Regions from separate parts of the Homo sapiens genome. Here region 1 is linked to region 2. Evidence: promoter capture Hi-C in 16 types of primary human blood cells and fetal thymus (Javierre and others, 2016). All regions are on one chromosome and are shown on one strand. Each heading gives the region's core, a stretch centred on a gene start or on the middle of the fragment in contact. The rest is flanking DNA. Distances are from core to core; before and after follow the strand shown. Region 1 holds the start of RNF186 (ring finger protein 186). Region 2 holds the start of EMC1 (ER membrane protein complex subunit 1).

Region 1 (5,479 bases), core at 2,980-5,479, 560 kb before region 2:
GTACAGCAATTAAAACAAACAAATATGTTTTATTTGGAGATTTGGAAGGATTCGTGCATGCTTCGGGATTCTAATGTTGCAGTAAGCACAAATAGAACATGGAGAAGAATGTGAAACCTAGATGAATTTAACATTTTAAGTCTCCGGAGACACTTTTGAATTCCCCTGGGGTAGATCTGCTTCAGGCTCCACCTCAGACTCTGCCCATATTCACTCCTCTTCAAGAAGCATTGGCCGAATCAGTCACCAAAGTGTCTTATCTCATGTCCCTGGAAGAGATCAATTTCACCTAGGTCAGTTACAACCCAAAGTACATAAATTACTAAGCCTCCTGTGAGCAGGTTGTAGTCAGGGGTGGAGGGCTTAAATAATCCATAATTTCCTCAAGTGTTAACGTCTCCATTTTGTTTTATTTTATTTTATTTACTTTTTTTTAAATACAGAGTGTCACTCTGTCACCCAGGCTGGAGTGCAGTGGCACGATCTTGGCTCACGCAACTGCGACCTCCCAGGCTCAAGCTATCCTCCTGCCTCGGCCTCCCAAGTAGCTGGGGCTACAGGTATGCACCACCAGGCCCAGCTATTTTTTGTATTTTTAGTAGAGATAGGGTTGCACCTCATTGCCCAGGCCGGTCTCGAACTCCTGAGCTCAAGCGATCCACCCACCTCTGCTTCCCAAAGTGCTGGGATTACAGGCTTGAGTCACTGTGCCCGGCCTCCATTTTATCAAATTTTAAAACTGAACTGCAGTGAAGTTAAAATTCTTGCCCAAGGTCACATAGCTGGTAAAGTGACAGGAGCCAGATTTCCAGCTATAGTCAGTGCTGGTGATAGTTAAGGCAAGGCACTTTTGAGAAACAAAGTTGTTCCTAAGCCAAGATGGTAGGAGGAGGACAACAGGAAGGAATGCTCTGTTAACAGTGGTCATTTCTCAGGGGTTGCAGTAAGATGAACTTTCACATTCTACTTTATTTCTGTAATACTTGGGTTGTTCCAGCCAATATGTTTTCTTAACGGTGGTTGCCCAATGATGTTAAAAGGTTATTTTTTAGGCTCTAACCCCAAATAACTTCCCTTGGTCTGATTTCAACCTCACTCAGCTACCTTCTGACAATTTGATTTCCCATTAAGCTGGCTAGAGAGAGAGGCACTGGCCGGCTGGGTGAAGCGGCTCATGCCTGTAATCCTAGCATTTTGGGAGGCTGAGGCAGGTGAATCACCTGAGGTCAGGAGTTTGAGACCGATCTGGCCAACATAGTGAAAGCCCATCTCCACTAAAAATACAATATTAGCCGGGTGTGGTGGCACACGCCTGTAGTCCCAGCTACTCAGGAGGCTGAGACAAGAGAATCGCTTGAGCCCGGGAGGCAGAGGTCGCACTCCAGCCTGGGCAAGACAGAGCGAGACTCTATCTCAAAAAAAAGTGAGAGGGACACTGGCCAAGCCAACATCACTGTGTGGCCCACCTGATTTTCTATTCTTATTATAAATGAATGTGGCTCAACACATTTTTCTCCTCTCATCCCTAATCCATCCTAGGGTCTCACAAACAGAAAATAACATTATGCAATGCAAGTCCAAGCAGAGAAAACACAGAATCTCTTCTAGCATGGTAACACACAGGCATTCGGTCACTCTTGTCCGTGTACAAAGTCTGGTTGTCTCATCAATGCCTGACCCTTTGTCAGAGAGCAAGTAAAGGCTTCTTTTCTTCATCCATTGCTGTGTTACATAGAGGTCTTTCACTTGCAAGGGACAGAAGTTCAATTTGAACTGACTTAAGAATAAAAATCAGGGTAGATTTTATAGGTTAATATCCTTGAAAAAATCCAATGCTAGGTGTCCTGCTTCAGGTGTTCAAATAACATCATCAGGCCTTTGTCTGATTCTTTTCTCATTTTTCTTTTGTGCTGACCTTACTCTTGAGCAGGTTCTCTGCACACTGTGGTCCTGGCAGCCCCAGGGTTCCATCCTCTAACTTAGAAACCCAGCACAAAGAGAAACTTCTCAAGGGCTCCAACAGAAGTCTCAGAATTGAATCTCATTGGCTTGGCTTCGATTATATGCCTACGCTCAAACCAATGGCTGCAGCTAGCAGAGCAGAGCATGCTAACTGGCCTGTCCTGAATTGTATCAGGGCCCCACTTCCAGAGAGCTGGAGCCAGACATCACCCTCTCCGTGAGCACAGAATGACGGTGGGAAGCAGTGGTTGCCCAAAGTGAAAACAGAGAACTGTTACCCAAAAAAGGGGAAAGAATGCTAGGCATGGGGGAAAAAACATGCCTAGATCCAAGGCCACCTTCAGCTTGATCTGGGGGAAAACGTGATATAGATGTGTATCTATACCTTAGTATCTGAGACAGGTCTCAGTTAATTTAGAAAGTTTATTTTGCCAAGGTTGAGGACACATGTCCGTGACACAGCCTCAGGAGGTCCTGATGACATGTGCCCAAGGTGGACAGAGCACAGCTTGGTTTTATACGTTTTAGAGGGACATGAGACATCAATCAACATATGTAAAATGAACATTGGTTCCATCTGAAAAGGTGGAGCAACTTGAAGCAAAGGCAGGAAGACCTGAAGTGGGGAAGGGGCTTCCAGGTCACAGGTGGATAAGAATGGTTACATTCTTTTGAGTTTCTGATTAGCATCTCCAAAGGAGGCAATCAGATATGCATTTGTCTCAGTGAGCAGAGAGGTGACTTTGAATAGAATGGGAGGCAGGCTGGCCCTAAGCAGTTTCCAGCTTGACTTTCCCTTGTGGCTTAGTGATTTTGGGGCCCCACGATTTATTTTCCTTTCACAGAGGTAACTGATGGTCTAGCTACAGGTTGAGAAGAAATGGGATGGGATGGTGAGAGTATTGGATTTCAGAGATAGAGGGCCCAGGGGGAGTGGGGAGGTGGGAGTTACCGATCCCACAAGGGAGGGAGCCCCTTTGGGGCTGGTGACTCCAGGACACAGAGGGTGGCCTGCAGTGCCAGCTACTGGGGTAAGGGAAAGAGCTGAATCAGAGGCACAGGACTCTGTGTGGCCCTTGGCAGGTGACATGAGCACCAAAGGATCCTTCACACGGGCTTCTGAGTTCAGAGTGGCCTGAATGAAACATTTGTTTGAGGGAGTGCACATGCCACCCCGCCATTTGCCCTTGAGGGCAAAGTAAGGAAATCACGTTTTCCTAACTGCTGTGTTACTAATATCTGCCTGTCTCACATGAGTCCTCTTAGCCTACGCCACCCGGCTGGGGCCAGTTGTGTCCAAATGAACCAATGAAATTGATTCAACCAGACCTTGGACGCTGGTAGATTCCACAAGGTCCTGCTCCATGGAAGGCCCCTTGGCAGGCAGCCAGCAGCCTACCCTGACCACACCCTGCCCTTGTTTCCCAGCCTTCCCTACAAGGCTGTATCAGGGTTCCGGGAAATGGGGGCTGGGGACCCCGGGCACAGGGCTTGGCTTAGAGTAGGCCCAAATAAATGGCAGCTGTTCTTAGTACTACTGGATACGCAGCATGCCTAGCACAAAACAGGACACCTGTGATTAGGCATGTGAAGTGTGCAGCAGGGCACCGATGGGAAGTTCATACACCCGTAACTGTGAATACAACAGCTGTGGCTCTAAGGAAATGAATACAGTAGCAGGTGCCAAACACCTGTGCGCTGTATGTGGTTTTGTTTTTCTGCGTTGGGTTGGGCTTTGTCCTCCTTCCACTCACTTTTCTTACCTCTCCCCTCCTCTTTCCAAGGCCACCTGCCTGTAAATGTGCTCCAAGTGCAAACAAACTTTTTTCCACTCATCCTGACATCCAAAAGTTTGTGTCTGAGAAAGCAGTGTCCACCAATCCACCTATGTCCGACTCATAGGGCTGTCTGTTTATTGTGCAGATTTGTAGATGCCAGTGAGCCAAGATCGGGCCACTGCACTCCAACCTGAGAGAACGAGACTCCGTCTCAAAAAAAAAAAAAAAAGTTAAATAAAAAAAATTAATAAAAGGTTCAGGGACCTGGGAAGTGGGGGTGAGAGAGTTGGATTCTGCTGCCTCCTAAAGCTTGAGCCACAGTTCTGTGGGCACCCACCAGGTACCTGGCCCCAACAGGAAAGTCCTGATTCACTAGACCCTTGCCCACTTTGCCCTCCTATCAGGCAATTCAAAGTCTCCAGACCCGCAAGTTACTGATTAACCCTAGGTTTTGAGAAAATAAATAATAATAACTGAAGGGACGACGTAAGCCAAGAAACAAGCTGGGCAGCTCTGGGAGAGAGGAGTGTCAGACAGCTGTTGTCAACAGGCACCTGGCCAGAGTGAAAAGGAGGGGCAGATTCCATCCAAGTCCCAGCGGCGCCAGCTGACACTCTCTGCCAATGCCCAGGTGCTGAGCGACAGTGTCCCACCGGTCCCTGTGCCCAGAATGGCCTGCACCAAGACCCTGCAACAGTCCCAGCCCATCTCCGCAGGAGCCACCACAACCACCACCGCTGTGGCCCCTGCTGGGGGTCATTCTGGCTCCACAGAATGTGACCTGGAGTGTCTGGTGTGCCGGGAGCCCTACAGCTGTCCCCGGTTGCCCAAGCTGCTGGCCTGCCAGCATGCCTTCTGCGCCATCTGCCTGAAGCTCCTGCTGTGCGTGCAGGACAACACCTGGTCCATCACCTGCCCGCTGTGCCGCAAGGTCACCGCCGTCCCCGGGGGCCTCATCTGCAGCCTGCGCGACCATGAGGCGGTGGTGGGGCAGCTGGCCCAGCCATGCACAGAGGTATCGCTCTGTCCTCAGGGGCTGGTGGATCCTGCTGACTTGGCAGCAGGACACCCCAGCTTGGTGGGAGAGGATGGACAGGATGAAGTAAGTGCAAACCACGTGGCAGCCCGGCGCCTGGCCGCGCACCTACTCCTGCTGGCCTTGCTCATTATCCTCATCGGGCCCTTCATCTACCCGGGTGTCTTACGATGGGTGCTCACCTTCATCATCGCCCTGGCCCTGCTGATGTCCACCCTCTTCTGCTGTCTCCCCAGCACCCGGGGCAGCTGCTGGCCCTCCTCCAGGACTCTCTTCTGCAGAGAGCAGAAACACAGCCACATCTCTTCCATTGCCTGAGTGCCCTCTGATGAGGCTATCCCTGCAGCCCTTTCTGCCCTTGGGCCCCCGGACTTCCACAATGAACAGGGTAAGGGGTTACGGACTAAGACTGGCTCCTTTGGGAAATCACATGCCAGCGGGACTTGCAAGCCACAACCGAGATGGCCAGCCTGGGTCAAGAATTACACGCTTGGATGACAGGCTTGCACTTGCCCTTGGGATAGCATAGCTAAAACTGTTGGTGGCTAGGGGAGCAGACACAAACTACTTGAACATGACAAGATGGGGGAAGCTCCTGTTCCTCTTATTCCAATGTTCTTGGTTTTTCTTTATATAACTTGATGAAAGTATTGCAGTATTGATGCCATTGTAGAATAGAACTGGAATTCCATTCTTTTTGCAA
Region 2 (6,071 bases), core at 524-3,023:
CTTGGAACAGCATTCTCCCAGATAATTCCACAGCTGCTCAATTCCACAGGTTGCTCGCTTCCTTTCTTTATTTTCTGCTCATTTGTCACTTCATCAGTGAGACCTTTCCCGACCACACTATACAAAATATCAACATCTCTTCACCCCATTTTCAATCTGATTTTTAGCATTTTGCGGAATATGTTTCTCCTAAAACGTTAGGCTCGATAAGAAATAGGCTTTCCTTGTGACTGCTGTATCCTCTAACGCCTAGAAAGTGCCAGACCCCTAAATATTTTTGAATATTCCAGGGAGCCGGGTTAAGAGAGAGGCCACCACAGCAAAGGTGGTCAAAAACGGTCTCTTAAGAGGTGCGCAAGTCGGGTGTAGTGGCTCACGCCTGTAATCCCAGCACTCAGGGAGGGTGGTTGGAGCCCAGGTGTTCGAGACCAGCTTGGCAACACACTGAGTCTTCTCTATAAAAAATAAACAAAAAAAACCTAGCTGGGTGTGGTGGCGTGCGCCTGTAGTCTCAGCTACTCGGGAGGTTGAGGTGGGAGGATCGCTTAAGCCAAGGAGGTCAAGGCTGCAGTGACTTATTTTATTTATTTATTTTTGAGACGGAGTCTCGCTCTGTCGTGCCCAGGCTGCAGTACAGTGGAGCGATCTCGGCTCATTGCAACCTCCGCCTCCCGGATTCAAGCGATTCTCCCGCCTCAGTCTCCCAAGTAGCTGGGATTACAGGCACCTGCCACCATGCCCATCTAATTTTTAGTATTTTTAGTAGAAAAGGGGTTTCACCATATTGGCCAGGCTGGTCGGGAACTCCCGACCTCAGATGATTCGCCCGCCTCGGCCTCCCAGAGTGCTGGGATTACAGGCGTGAGCCACCGCATCCGGCCTGCAGTGTTACGATCGCGCCACTGCACTCCAGCCTGGGCAACAGAGCGAGACCCTGTCTCAGAGGGATCCTATTAACTGACAACTAAGAAGGCGCAAACCATACGAAGATGTAAGCATGCCAGGCAGAAACAACCGCAGACACACAACGCCAGACACGGGAACAAACCTGTGCTGAAAGAAGGGAAAGGCAGCCAGGGTGGCGGGAGCGCAGGAAGATGAGAAAGGGCCGAAGTTGGGAAAAGTGGGCCGAAACGGCAGCAGGCATAGCCGGGGGCGGTGTTCAGGAGCTGCCTCCCGACCCAGTTGGCCTTGCAAGAGCACCTGAAACTAGGCAAAACGAGTCTCCGCTCCCCAGACCCGACCGGGCGTCAGCCACCTCTGGCGGTTTTACAGCCCCGAAGCCCCCATTCCAGCTCGCAGCGAGGCAGCGGAACACCTCGAGGATGTCCTGGCGTTCCAATCTGCGCCCCCGCCGCCCCGAAGCCCTCACCGCAGGCTGGGTAGCCAGCCCACGGAGCTCCCCCCAGGGTCCCGACTCCCCCTTCGCCCACCTTTCTTGTCGCGCTTGGATTTGGGCATCGCGCTGAATCCACGTGCGGCGGAAGACGGTGCACCCCGTTAGGACCCCGGCGGCGCGGGGGACTCTGGGACGGCCCTCGGGGGCTGCCCCTCGCGTGTGCCTGACCCAATGTGCACTGCAGCCTGCCTCTCCCTGCCAAGCCGCCGCCTGCGCTTTCTCCCGCGCCTGTAGGGCAACTTCCCGTGTGCCGAGGCAGTCCCTGAATCCCGAGCGTCCCGTCCGACCGAGGGCCTCGCGCGCTATCCCAGCTCTGTGGTCCCGCGGAGGCGGAGCCCGCGGCGCGGTGCATGCCGGGACGGCGGTGGGTGGTGCATGCGCTCGCATCATGGCGGCTGAGTGGGCTTCTCGTTTCTGGCTTTGGGCTACGCTGCTGATTCCTGCGGCCGCGGTCTACGAAGACCAAGTGGGCAAGTTTGATTGGTGCGTACGTGTGGAACATATTCGAGAGATAAGTGGCTGTTTCCCCAGTACCTGTCTCCTACCTGCTAAAGGTTGTCACTTAACAGGATTGGCCGCATAATTTGCAGGACCCAGTACAAAATGAAAACGTGGGGCCCCTTGTTAAAAAATTATTAAGGATTTAAAGTCGTTGGAAGCAGAGCCTTAAACCAAGTGTTAGGGGTCATTCTAAGCTGATCCTTGCGTGTAAGCCGGCCCTGCCATCCAGGAATGCTTGGGGTGCCGGTCAGAGATCACTGATCCCGTCCTCCCTCGTCAGGTTCGATTTTTTTGACTGTGAGGTTTCTGGTCTACCAGGTGTCAGAGGTCGCCAAGCTGTCAGTGAACTTTAATTCCTACTCGAATTGGTGTCTTGTAGGCAAGTGAACAGGAGCTTTCGTCTTAAAAGTCCTAAACTGAGTCCTTTTCCCCTCTCATCAACCTAGTCTGGCCCTGGGCTCACAGCAGGATTGCCCAAAACACTAAGCAGCTAGAATATGCCATTCACTCATTCATTCATTCACCCACCCACGTCTTCCTTAAGGCCCTGGAGTAGCTTGCTTTTGTTTGAATTTTACTAGTTAAGACTTGTGTGATCTTGGGGAAAGTGACTTAACCACTCTGTGCCTTGGTTTCTTTGTCTGTAGAATGGGTTTACTAACAGTCCGTTATCTCTTACAGTACTTGTGAGAATGAATGAGACAATCCCATTAAATTACTTAGCACAATGCCTGGCTCATTGAATGCAGTCATTAAGCGTTATCTGTTATTATTGCTATTTACACTTTATTCTTCAGGGCCCAGGTCAGATTTCTCCTCCTCTGAAGTATTTTCTGTCTTGGAAAAGTTGATTCGCATATATGTTGAGTACCTGTTATGCCAGACAGTGTGACAAATAAAACATGTTACATTTTTAATGATGTGCACAACTGTTCACAATGTCATATGTGTATGTTACACATATATATCGGGTGATATGTGTATCTAATTTTGCAGAATACTTGATATATGCAATTTTCTTAATTTTATTTTCATGAATGAATGAATGAATGAATGGCATTTCCTAACTGCTTAGTGTCTTGGGCAGCTCTGCTCTGAGCCCAGGGCCAGGTTAGGCTGATGAGGGGGGAAAAGGACTCTGTTTAAGACTTTTTTTTTTTTTTTTTTTTTTTTTTTTTGAGACAGTTTTGCTCTTGTTGCCCAGGCTGGAGTGTAATGGCGCGATCTCATGGCTCACCACAACCTCCGCCTCTGGGGTTCAAGCGATTCTCCTGCCTCAGCCTCCCGAGTAGCTGGGATTACAGGCATGCGCCACCACACCCAGCTAATTTTTGTATTTTTGGTAGAGACAGGGTTTCTCCATGTTGGTCAGGCTGGTCTCAAACTCCCGATCTCAGGTAATCCACCCGCCTAGGCCTCCCAAAGTGTTGGAATTACAGGTGGGAGCCACTGCGCCCAGCCAAGACTTTTTAAAATTTTTTGAGACAGGGACTCATTCTGTAGCCCAGGCTGGAGTACAGTACTATCATGGCTCACTGCAGCTTTGACCTTGCAGGTTCAAGTGACCCTCCCAGCTCAGCCTCCTGAGTAGCTGGGACTACTGGTGCACACCTCTCCAGTTTCTTTGTATTTTTTGTAGAGACGGGGTTTTGCCATGTTGCCCAGGCTGGTCTTGAACACCTGGGCTCAAGCAATCTGGCTGCCTCGGCCTCCCAAAGTGCTGGGATTACAGGTGTGAGCCACTGCACCTGGCCTACAGTTTTCAGATTGAAAAATAAATGAAGACATACAGGTATGCATCACTTAATGATGGGAATACATCCTGAGAAATGCCCTCTTGTGCAAACGTTGTAGCATGTACTTATGTAAATCTAGATGGTTTAGCCTACTACACACCTAGGCTATATGGTACAGCCTATTCTTCCTAGGCTACAAACCTGTACGGCATGTTACTTTACTGAAAACTGTAGGCAATTGTAACACAATGGTAAATATTTGTGTATCTAAACATAGAAAATGTATGGTAAAAATAGGATATGAAAGATAAAAAATGGTACACTGGTATAGGGCACTTAACATGAATGTATCTTGCAGAACTAGGAGTTGTTCTGGGGTTAGTCAGTAAGTGGTTGGTGAGTAAATGTAAAGGCTTAGGACATTACTGTACACTACTGTGGACTTTATAAATACTGTGCATTTAGACTATACTAAATTTATAAAATTTCTTCAATAATAAGTTAACCTTAGCTTAATGTAACTTTTTTACTTTACAAACATTTTATTTTTTTAATTTTTGACTTTTGTAATAATACTTAGTATAAAACACAGACTTTACAGCTGTACAAAAATATATTTTTAAAATTTATTTTTGACATGGGATCTTGCTATGTTCCCCAGGCAGATATTGAACTCCTGGACTCAAGCAAGCCTCCTGCCTCAGCCTCCCTAGCAACTGGGATTACAGGCATATGCTACCATGCCTGACTTAATAATATTTTTCTTATATCTTTATTCTATAAGCTTTTTCCTACAATACTAAAATTTTTTTTTTCAGTCTTAAACTATTTTGTTAAAAACTAAGACACAGGCCGGGCGCAGTGGCTAACATCTGTAATCCTAGCACTTTGGGAGGCTGAGGTGGGTGGATGGCTTGAGTCCAGGAGTTCAAGACCAGCTTGGGGCTGGGCGTGGTGGCTCACGCCTATAATCCCAGCACTTTGGGAGGCCGAGGCGGGTGGATCACGAAGTCAAGAGGTCAAGACCATCGTGGCCAACATGGTGAAACCCCGTCTCTCCTAAAAATACGAAAATTAGCTGGGCGTGGTGGCACACGCCTGTAGTCCCAGCTACTTGGGAGGCTGAGGCAGGAGAATTACTTGAACCTGGGAGACGGAGGTTGCAGTGAGTTGAGATCACGCCACTGCACTCAGCCTGGCAACAGAGCGAGACTCCATCTCAGAAACAAAACAAAACAAAACAAAAAACAGGTTGGGCAATATGGCGAAACCCCATTTCTGCAAAGCATACAAAAATTAGCCGGGCATGGTGGTGGGTGCCTGTAGTCCCAGCTACTCGGGAGGCTGAGGTGGGAGGATCACCTAAGCCTGGGAGGTCGTGGCTGTAGTGAGCTGTGATGGTGCCTCTGTACTCCAGTCTGGGTGACAGAGTAAGAGCATCTCAAAAAACAAGCAAACAAAAAACAAACTAAGACACAAACACATTAGCCTGGGCCTAAATAGGGTCAGGATCATCAATATCACTGTCTTCCACCTCCACATACTGTCTTACTGGCAGGTTTTCAGGAGCAGTAACACCCATGGAGCTATCATCTGTGATAACAATGCCTGTTTCTGGAATACCTCTTTTTTTTTTTGGGACAGAGTCTTACTCTGTCGCTCAGCCTGGAGTGAAGTGGCATGATCTCAGCTCACTACAACCTCCACCTCCCGGGTTCAAGTGATTCTCATGTCTCAGCCTCCCAAGTAGCTGGGACTGTGGTGCACAGCACTATGCCTGGCTAATTTTTGTATTTTTAGTAGAAATGGGGTTTCACCATGTTGGCCAGGCTGTTCTTGAACTCCTGACCTCAGGTGATCTGCTCGCCTCCGCCTCCCAAAGTGCTGGGATTATAGGCATGAGCCACTGCGGCCAGCTTGGAATACCTCTTGAAGCACCTGCATGAGACTATTTTACAGTTAATTTTCTTTTAATAAGTAGAAGGAGTACTCTAACCATAAAAAGTAGATACGTAAACCAGTAACACAGTCATTTATTATCATTGTCAAGTATTATGTAGTATACATTATTGAATATGCTGTACTTTTATACAGCTGGCAGTACAGTGGGTTTGTTTACACCACCTTCACCGCAAACGTGATTAATGCATTCGACTACAATGTTATAGCAGCTACAATGTTACTAGGTTATAGGAATTTTTCAGCTCCATTATACTCTTGTGTGACCACCACTGTATATGCTGTATATGCGATCAATCATTGACTGAAACATTGTTTTGCAGTGCATGACTGTATAGTAAAACGTTAAAAGTATATGTACAAAGCTGGGCACAATGGCATGCACCTGAAATCCCAGCTACTTGGGAGGCTGAGATGGGAGTATTACTTGAGCCCAGGAGTTCAATCCAGCCTAGGCAGCACAGTGAGATCCCATC

Evidence for each region. Contacts are between HindIII fragments. The CHiCAGO score rates a contact against its expected background, and 5 or more counts as called.
Region 1: the fragment with the promoter of RNF186 here is called in contact with the fragment with the promoter of EMC1 in region 2 in 1 of 17 cell types (total CD4 T cells); the score reaches 5.8 in total CD4 T cells.

Annotation. Positions count from the first base shown.
Region 1 is chr1:19,814,033-19,819,511 of GRCh38, reverse strand. It overlaps RNF186 (ring finger protein 186), which reads left to right and starts at 4,229. Exons shown (of 1, transcript NM_019062.2): 1 at 4,229-5,479. The coding sequence starts at 4,411. The coding sequence ends at 5,094. RNF186-AS1 (RNF186 antisense RNA 1) reads right to left here and starts at 5,103. Exons shown (of 2, transcript NR_186008.1): 1 at 4,959-5,103; 2 at 10-269. RefSeq lists an enhancer at 2,237-2,768. The HindIII fragment of the contact is 1,953 bases long and covers 4,052-5,479 here.
Region 2 is chr1:19,247,226-19,253,296 of GRCh38, reverse strand. It overlaps EMC1 (ER membrane protein complex subunit 1), which reads left to right and starts at 1,773. Exons shown (of 23, transcript NM_015047.3): 1 at 1,773-1,882. The coding sequence starts at 1,788. It overlaps MRTO4 (MRT4 homolog, ribosome maturation factor), which reads right to left and starts at 1,492. Exons shown (of 8, transcript NM_016183.4): 1 at 1,434-1,492. The coding sequence starts at 1,461. RefSeq lists an enhancer at 1,355-1,860. The HindIII fragment of the contact is 6,293 bases long and covers 1-4,422 here.